Linked DNA regions of Homo sapiens: regions 1 and 3 are each linked to region 2. Evidence: promoter capture Hi-C in human tissues and cell types (Jung and others, 2019). All regions are on one chromosome and are shown on one strand. The core of a region is centred on a gene start or on the middle of the fragment in contact, and the rest is flanking DNA. Distances in the headings are between cores, read along the strand shown.

Region 1 (2,700 bases), core at 77-2,576, 910 kb before region 2:
GTAATATTAATATAGTTTTCAGATGCTTCACATAATTTAGAACTTTGTAAGTTTTTTTCCTGCCTTACGTTAGTTATTTCTTCAGTGAGTTGTAAAGTCGGCCCTCTGTATCAACAGGTTCCACATCTTTAGATTCAACCAACCGTGGATCAAAAGTATTCTGGGGAAAAAACAATAAAATATAACAGTGGAAAAGAAAATACAGTATAACAACTATTTACAATGAATTTATATTGTATTAGGTATTATAAGTAATCTAGAGATAATTTAAAGTATTTTGGAGGATGTGTGTAGGCTTTATGCAAATACTATGCCGTTTTATATAAGGGACTTAGGCATCTGAGGGTTTTGGTATCCAGAGGACTGGATGCCAAGGGATAACTGTAAAAGCTGATTTGAAAAGTCTGTTAATACCATTTTTAAAAAATTGTCACCGTGTAGTCTTCACCTTTTGCAAAGATTTTTTTTTTTAAGTACTACCTCTCCTTTTTGATCAAGGCAGTATGCAATCTTTGTATTAGTGTATTTTCAGAAACATCAATTAGATGTTTAACTTGTTTCCTTTTTTAAATGCTTCACAGATAATTTACTAGATTATTTTTAACAAACAATTCAAAGCTTGAATTAGTGAAACTTCAAAAACAGATTGTGGTATACAAATTATACACATTTCTAATAAAGTACATTAAAGCAAAAATTAATTTGATTTTAATACATTTCATAAAGATGATAGAATTGTTCAGTATTAATATATGATAAATATTTTATGTAAATAATGATATAAAAGTGGCCATAAGCAAGGGTTTTCCTGTCACTATACAAAACTAAACCTGACAATTCAAATTCGAATATCACTTGAAAAGCTCTTAAGAGGAAATAATAAATTCTTTACCTTGTTGAACTTCAAAAAATTAACATTTGGGGCTCAAGAGACTCTCCAAATTGGCTGTGTGACCTTGGATAAGTAACTTAATCTCAAAATCTCTCATATCAAAACTGGGGGATTAGTTTAAGTGATTTGGAAAATCCCATTCAGTTTTAAAATCCTGTGGTTCTCTAATTTTTTTCTTTAGCTTTGTTTTCCGGAAAGTTCGAAGCTTGCTAGGGGGAAATATTCGTCTCCTGTTGTGTGGTGGCGCTCCACTTTCTGCAACCACGCAGCGATTCATGAACATCTGTTTCTGCTGTCCTGTTGGTCAGGGATACGGGCTCACTGAATCTGCTGGGGCTGGAACAATTTCCGAAGGTAGTGTTCTCCATGGTCAGAGGCTGGAGTGTGATGCCAGACGTTTTTTTGGGGTATGGGATATTTTCTGCAAATATATAGGAGAAGAGTAGTAAGGTGTTTGTGAGGCAGAATAATGGTGGATTCCAAGTACTATGATCATTGATATCAATTTTTAGAATGTATTAGATGCATCTGGAGTCAATAATTTATCTGGAGAAGTTTTTATATCAAACTGATAGGTAATATTAAAAACCACTTAGCATTTTGGAAGAGAAACTTTAGTAACAAACACTGACTGTTTTGTGTACATTTATTTTCTCACATCAGTGATTAAATTTCTTTTTATGTAGAAAACTTAAGGTGCTTTTGTTTATTTGTGTAGGTGAGTATATTAAGGCTCAGGTTCAGAAATGTTTATGAGGATTTCTGTAAGTGTTAGAGAAGGAACTAAGTTCTGGTCTAGGGAATATTATTACCAGAGTTTATCATGTGGTTGTGTTTGAGGAGGAGATCTACCAACTAATCAGCAGTTCTGAGATGAATCGCATAGGGCCTCATGCGTCCCTTTTATGGGAGAAAGTTATTTTGCTTTCCGGTACAGGATACAGCTGTGCTTCTCCTACTTTGTATTTGCCATATACGGATAGATACAAAACCTCATGACTGATTTTTCCCTATTTATTTTGAGTGGCTCTGTATACCATTTTCATGTATTACTTCATTTTTCTGTTTTTCAGTTATGTTCTCTGTTTTCGTATATTTTTGGAAGCTAGTTCTAAGTCATGTTTTGTAGGAAATAAGCAATCTTAAATACATGCATAGGGGATTTCTTTCTTCTGAGGATCCTTAATTTCTTCTATTTTTAAGATTCAAATTGAATGATTAATCAGTAACAGTTTATGTTTTAAATAAAAGTCTTTAAAATGTTAAATATCAGCCTTTCATTTCTGATATTTGGTCTTTGAAGAGGAAACATAATGCAATAGTAATTCATAATAGTGGAGGGTTCTTTCCTCACATCCTTGAAAGCCACCAGTCTTATTCTTCAGCCTGGCTCTTGAGCTATTGCTGTATTAATTTTAAATAGGGTGTGATAGCATAAGCTGATGGAAGCCTGCAGAGATCTCACTTTGAAATGGTGATACATTACATGGGAAAAGATTAGAGAGGTGTTTTATACTGCACATCGGTGAGGCCTAATAAGAAAGTAGAATAGACGTAAACCATTGTTTTCATCATCCTTTAAGACAGGGATTTCAAACTCAAGAACCAGGCAGCTACCTATTTAAATGAGTCAAGTGGGCCCTAATGTAAGACAATGTGATGGGTAAGGATTGATTCTGAGGGAACAGGAGCAGGCATGCCCTCTCTAACAGAGGCCGTCAGTTCTGCTGTACCTGAAATGTGGGCCCATTGTTGCTGGCGATTCCACACTTACATCTAAAATTTCCTGATTTTTTAAGAATGACAAT
Region 2 (2,700 bases), core at 175-2,674:
CCCACTCCTGCCTCCGGTGGGCCCACAGGGTGCAGGTCACTTCCCTTCTGCGGATTTGGGAAGTGGTAACACACTTGGGGAAGTGGGACTAGTGACGTTCAGACCACCACACTCTTAAAAGGCTGCCCCTAAACAGCAGGCAAGAGCAAGAGGAGCCTGAGCTATCGCTTCCACCCAAGTGCAGGTCACCAGATCTCTCATCAGCAGGGCTGCGGCCGGCCTCAGCTTCCAACCTGACCCCCTATCCCCTGCCCTTACACACCCCAGTCCATTCTCCAACCACAGCCAAACTGCACACCATGCCGGGTGCAGTGGCTCACCCCTGTAATCCCTACACTTTGGGAGGCCGAGGCAGGCGGATCACCTGAGGTCAGGAGTTCGAGACCAGCCTGGCCAACATGGTGAAACCCCGTCTCTACTAAAAATACAAAAATTAGCTGGGTGTGGTGGCACACGCCTGTAATCCCCGTTACTCGGGAGGCTGAGGCAGGAGAATCGCTTGAACCCGGGAGGCAGAGCCGAGACCACACCACTGCACTTCAGCCTGGGCGACAGAGCGAGATCAGTCTCAAAAAAACAAAAGTGCACAACGGGTAAGGTCAGTTTTCTTGCTAAAACGTCCCCGAGGTTTCCCCTACTCAGTTGGAACCAAAACCAAACTCCTTATTTTGGCCTATAAAAACCCGCCTCACCTGGCAGAAGCCCACCTCTCCTGCCACAAACAAGGCCTTCTCCCCTCCGCTTTGCTCTCTCTAATCCACCTGTAGCGCCCCTCCAGGACCTCCAGCAGCTAGAATGTCATGTCCTTGAAGAGGCTTTGCCAAATCAAAAGTTGCCACTCCACCCGGTTGTATTTGAGACTTTACAGCGCTTCTTACTTTAGAAGTTCTCTTCATTTTACTTGTATATTGGACGTGTCCCTCCCTCCGCATCCCCCTCCTGGAAGGTAAGCTTCCTGGAGAACAGGGGCTCCTCCTGGTCCCCCGCGACATCCCCAGCGCCCAGCACCGAGCCCGGCACAGACTAAGCACTCGGCTAAGGCGGATCGAATGAATGAATGGAGCCGCGGCGCCGCGGCGCCGCGTTGCCGCAGGAATCCCGGGCAAGCGATCCTGGCGCGTCCGCACCGTCTGGGGCAGCGGGGCCACAGGGACGCACGGTTCGGGTGGCCAGGCGGGACTCGGCCCGCACCCCCACCCGGCCGCGCGCCCGGCCCGGACGCCCCAGGTGCCTCCCCGGAGCGCGAGCGCCCCCACCGCCTACCCGGGCCGGCGGTTCCCCCGCACTCACCATCGTGGCTGGGCCGCCGCCTCCCCCGCCTTGCGAGCAAGGAGCGCTGGAGAAGCGAGGGCGAGAGGCGAGCGCTGGAGCCGGTGCGGCTGACAGGTGAGGCGCCCGGCTTAGACCATGGCTGCTTCCCACAATGCCCTGGCACTGAAAGTGTGCAGACTCCTCCCAGCGCGGCTGCCTCCTCCCTGCACGCTCCTCCCCGCTGCCTCCTCCCCGCGCCCTCCTCCCCGCTCCCCCCGCTCCTCGCCCTCCTGCTCTCCTTCTTTCTTCCTTTCCCCTTTCTCCTCCCTTCTCCTCCTCCTCCTCCTCTTCCCTCCTTTCTGCCTCTCCTCTGTACCCCCTCCCCGCCCCCGCCTCGGCTGCAGCTGTTCCCGCCCCGAGCCGGCCGCACCTGGAGCGAATGCACCTGCGCGCGCGGGCGTCTGTACCCCGACAGCCCGCAGCTCGGCGCGGGTGGTCAGGCGAGAGCGCGTGGCCCGCTAGGAACTCCCTGCGCGGGGAACTCCCTGCGCGGAGAACACCGGGGACTTTTCGCGATTCTGCCGCGCGAGTGTGTCCTGTATTCCTTCCGCAAACGTTTATCAAACCTGGCAAAGATACTTCCGATACACTCGCAGAAAGTGCCGGGGGCTGCCTTATCCTAAGCCTCCTAGGGAGGGAGCAGTTGGAAGAGAAAGAACTAGAAGCGTTTTCTTATCCCCTTCTGCCCCCATTTCACTTTTTAAAAAGTAAGCTCTGCAGTCTAAGGGCAAAGATCATTTTAAGCAGGCCCCCATTTATTTATTTATTTATTTATTTATTTATTTATTTATTTATTTATTTAGAGACGGAGTGTCGCTCTGTCGCCCCGTCTGGAGTGCAGTGGGGCGATCTCGGCTCCCTGCAACCTCCGCCTCCTGCGTTCAGGGTGATCCACCCGCCTCGGCCTCCCAAAGTGCTGGGATTACAGGCATGAGCCACTGCGCCCGGCAGCACGACCCCCTTTTAAGAAGTCTCTCCTAAGAAGTTGTGGTGTAGAAAGTTCGTTCTCCAATCTCTCCTCCCCTTGACTTTTCTTAAATCTAGGGCGTTGAGAGTCTCTAAACCCCCAAGCTGTAAACAGAGTTTTTTCTTTTTTCTTTTAATTATATTTACCAGATAGACTAGATGTAAGCAGAGTTTTTAATGCATATTCATGTTTTTGAGAAAGGGAGTCCACTGGTTTTATCAAATAGCTAAAGAGATCCTAGACCCTGCAAAAGTTAAGAATCATTTCCTGGGCCAGGCGTGATGGTTCATGCCTGTAATCCCAACACTTTGGGAGGCCCAGGTGGGCGGATCGCTTGAGACCAGAAGTTCGAGACAAGCCTGGCCAACATGGTGAAACGCCGTCTCTACTAAAAATACAAAATTTAGCTGGGCGTGGTGGCA
Region 3 (2,700 bases), core at 45-2,544, 860 kb before region 2:
TGTCATAGTGCACAAGTTAGTAATAAAATAGTGTGATTGTTTTTCAGTGATTTGATTTGAGAAGTTTGTAGTTATTTGTGCCCAGACAGGTTAACCAGTAACTGCTTAGCCAGCTTGTCTGCATTCAGTTCACTCTTTAGAAGGAGCAGCCTTTGACTAACCTCTCCCCATTTCCCCCATCCCCAGCCTCTGGCGGCCACTCTTCCACTCTATTTCTATGAGTTTGACTTTTTTAGATTCCACATAGAAGCAAGATCATACCGTCTTTGTCTTTCCCTGTCTGAGTTATTTCACTTGGCATCATGTCTTCCAGGTTCATCCAAGTTGTCGCAAATGGCAAGATTTGCTTCTTTTTGGCTAAATAATATACAATTATATATATATACACACACACAAACACACATATACATGTATTTCACAATTTATGTATTCATGTCAATGGACACTTATGGTGGTTATACCTTGGTTATTGTGAACAGTGCTCCAATGAATAACGGAGTGCAGCTATCTCTTTGAGCTATTGATTTCATTCCTTCTCAACACCACACACACACACACACACACACACACACACACACACACACACACACACACACACTGGTAAGTAGGTGAGGTGATGGATGTATGAACAAAATTGATTGTGGTCATCATTTTTTCACAATATATACATATATCAAATCCTAATATTGTACATCTTAAACTGATAGAGTTTTGTCAGTTAGTTATACCTCAATAAAGCTGGAAAAAATAAATAAAAGGAACATCCTGCTGGCTGTCTCTGTGGGACAGCCTGGCCCAGCAGAGCCACTCTCCAGACACTGCACATGCATGTGTCCCTGTAAGAAGCCGCTGCTGTTCCTTCCTGAACAGTGAAGCTGGTCCCTGTGAGATGTTGCCATCCTTGGGGGAATACCTCAAGTGGCTTCTGCAATGTTCAAAGGCTTCTGCGACAACCTCAAACCGACCTCTAGCCCTCCAAAGATTGTGCTGGACTCTGCCTGGAAGGGTGAGGGAGGTGCCCATTTTTTCTCTTGCCCAAAGACCCTCCCCTTCTTCCATGTGTGCCTGAAGCTGTCTTGAGGCACCAGAGAGCCCCTGTCTGTTTTTCACTCATTTCTGCTAAGCCTGTGTTCACAGATTGAGGTAAACCCCGCTGGAGAAATAGAATCTGCTTTCAGCTTCATCTGCAGAACTAGGTCACTTTAGTCTTTTGCTAACCAGATTACCAATAAAAATTGCCTGGAAAAAGATGGAGAATGAAAACAAACAAAATGAAACAACATTAAGACAAAAGATAAATCTGTGATAATTTCTTGAGTATAGCATGTTTCTATTTCTGCTTCTGTGGTTCAGATATTAAAGACTTAAAGTAAATCTCTTTGTTGTAAGATTAAAGAGAATTTCCCATATTAAATAAAATTAAAAGCTTGGATTAAAGGAAGCAACACTATCAGCTAGTTTCTTCCATTGGTTGCATCATCGACATCTTTGAACCCCAGGATTTAAGATGGAGCAACTTCCAAAAACTCTTGTCCTTTCAAGCCATTTCTGCGGTGACACTGAGGCTACTGGGGAATCTGTTTGGCCAGTGGAGGGCACTTCAGCCTCTTGCTCTGGGTGTAATCACTTTGCTTTTCACACATGACCTGGCAGAGCTGATGCAACTCTAGTGCCTCACACAAACATTTCCATTTGCAACCTACTGGATTGTGTCATTCATCTCTTTTTGCTCTTGCATTTCCTTCTAATATTGAAGGTAGACTTGCTGGCTTGGAAACCTGACATCTGTGCTTTGAAGTCTAGGAGGATGAAAAAGTCTTGAAGCCAGGACAAGATGGCCCGCAAAGGGATCAGGTTTTATTCTGACCAAAATAAAGACTTTTTAAAGACTTTTGAAGCCTTGTTTATGCTATCAGGGCTCCAATTTAAAAGATGTCACTGTCAGTAGATGTCTTCTGATTTTGAGAAGCACATGTGATGAGTTCTGGGTCACTCACCTTCCCACGGTGTCCTCGGTGTTCCTAGCCTCATTGTTGCTCTCAGCCAGCCTCAACCAAAACCACTTCCTCTGGAAGCCTGTCCCTTCCCCCACTCCCATTTGCGAGTCTTCCCAGATGCCCTTTTCTAGTGCTTCAACCACGGTCCCCCACCTGCCTCTCCCTCTACCTGCTCCCTTAACAGCTCCACCTTGCCCCTCCTCTTAAGGGTGAGGAGTAGCTACAGGTAGAGAAATACTTAACGTCATGCTTTTATTTTTGGACTCCCCAGTAGACCTGAGTGCTTTATTCAAGGAGGACATCAGCATTGATTTTCCCTCTCAGCAAAGTGCTTTAAAGGTGAAAGTGCCTTTTCACAGAGCTGGGGCCACCTTGCATCATAGCCTTGGAGCCATTTCTGTGTGGCAGAGAGAAGGCTACCCACTCCTTCCCCACTTCCCGTCTCCATTGACAGCCTTCTCTTTGAAGCTGATGTGTGCCTCTGACTTTCTGCAACCCTGAACTTTCAGCATTGTGTTTTTCGGCTAGCCATTCTACAGCTTGATCATCTGAATGCAGATATGCATAGAGGTTCTGCTCGTGACCATGTGACCCACCTTTGTATCCTGCAAGAACAATGGGATTGGTGTGGAGGATGAGAGCTGGAGCTCTGGAGTCAATATGCCTAGAGGGAATTGTGGATTACTATCATGTAATCTTCAGC

What was found. The method cuts DNA at HindIII sites, captures the fragments that hold promoters and counts their contacts. A contact is called where the count stands out against the background at its distance.
Region 1: a contact is called between a fragment that was not itself captured here and the fragment with the promoter of AP1S3 in region 2, in 1 of the 25 tissues and cell types used here (dorsolateral prefrontal cortex).
Region 3: a contact is called between a fragment that was not itself captured here and the fragment with the promoter of AP1S3 in region 2, in 1 of the 25 tissues and cell types used here (IMR-90 fibroblasts).

What each region holds. Positions count from the first base shown.
Region 1 is chr2:222,925,944-222,928,643 of GRCh38, forward strand. It overlaps ACSL3 (acyl-CoA synthetase long chain family member 3), which reads left to right. Exons shown (of 17, transcript NM_004457.5): 12 at 1,074-1,246. Among named protein-coding and RNA genes, the nearest start is that of ACSL3-AS1, 7.7 kb to the left of the region's middle. The HindIII fragment of the contact is 6,092 bases long and covers 1-2,700 here.
Region 2 is chr2:223,836,158-223,838,857 of GRCh38, forward strand. It overlaps AP1S3 (adaptor related protein complex 1 subunit sigma 3), which reads right to left and starts at 1,425. Exons shown (of 5, transcript NM_001039569.2): 1 at 1,291-1,425. The coding sequence starts at 1,293. RefSeq lists enhancers at 832-921, 1,792-1,971 and silencers at 1,032-1,461, 1,492-1,621. The HindIII fragment of the contact is 8,969 bases long and covers 1-2,700 here.
Region 3 is chr2:222,980,576-222,983,275 of GRCh38, forward strand. No RefSeq gene overlaps it. Among named protein-coding and RNA genes, the nearest start is that of ACSL3-AS1, 62 kb to the left of the region's middle. The HindIII fragment of the contact is 3,166 bases long and covers 1-2,700 here.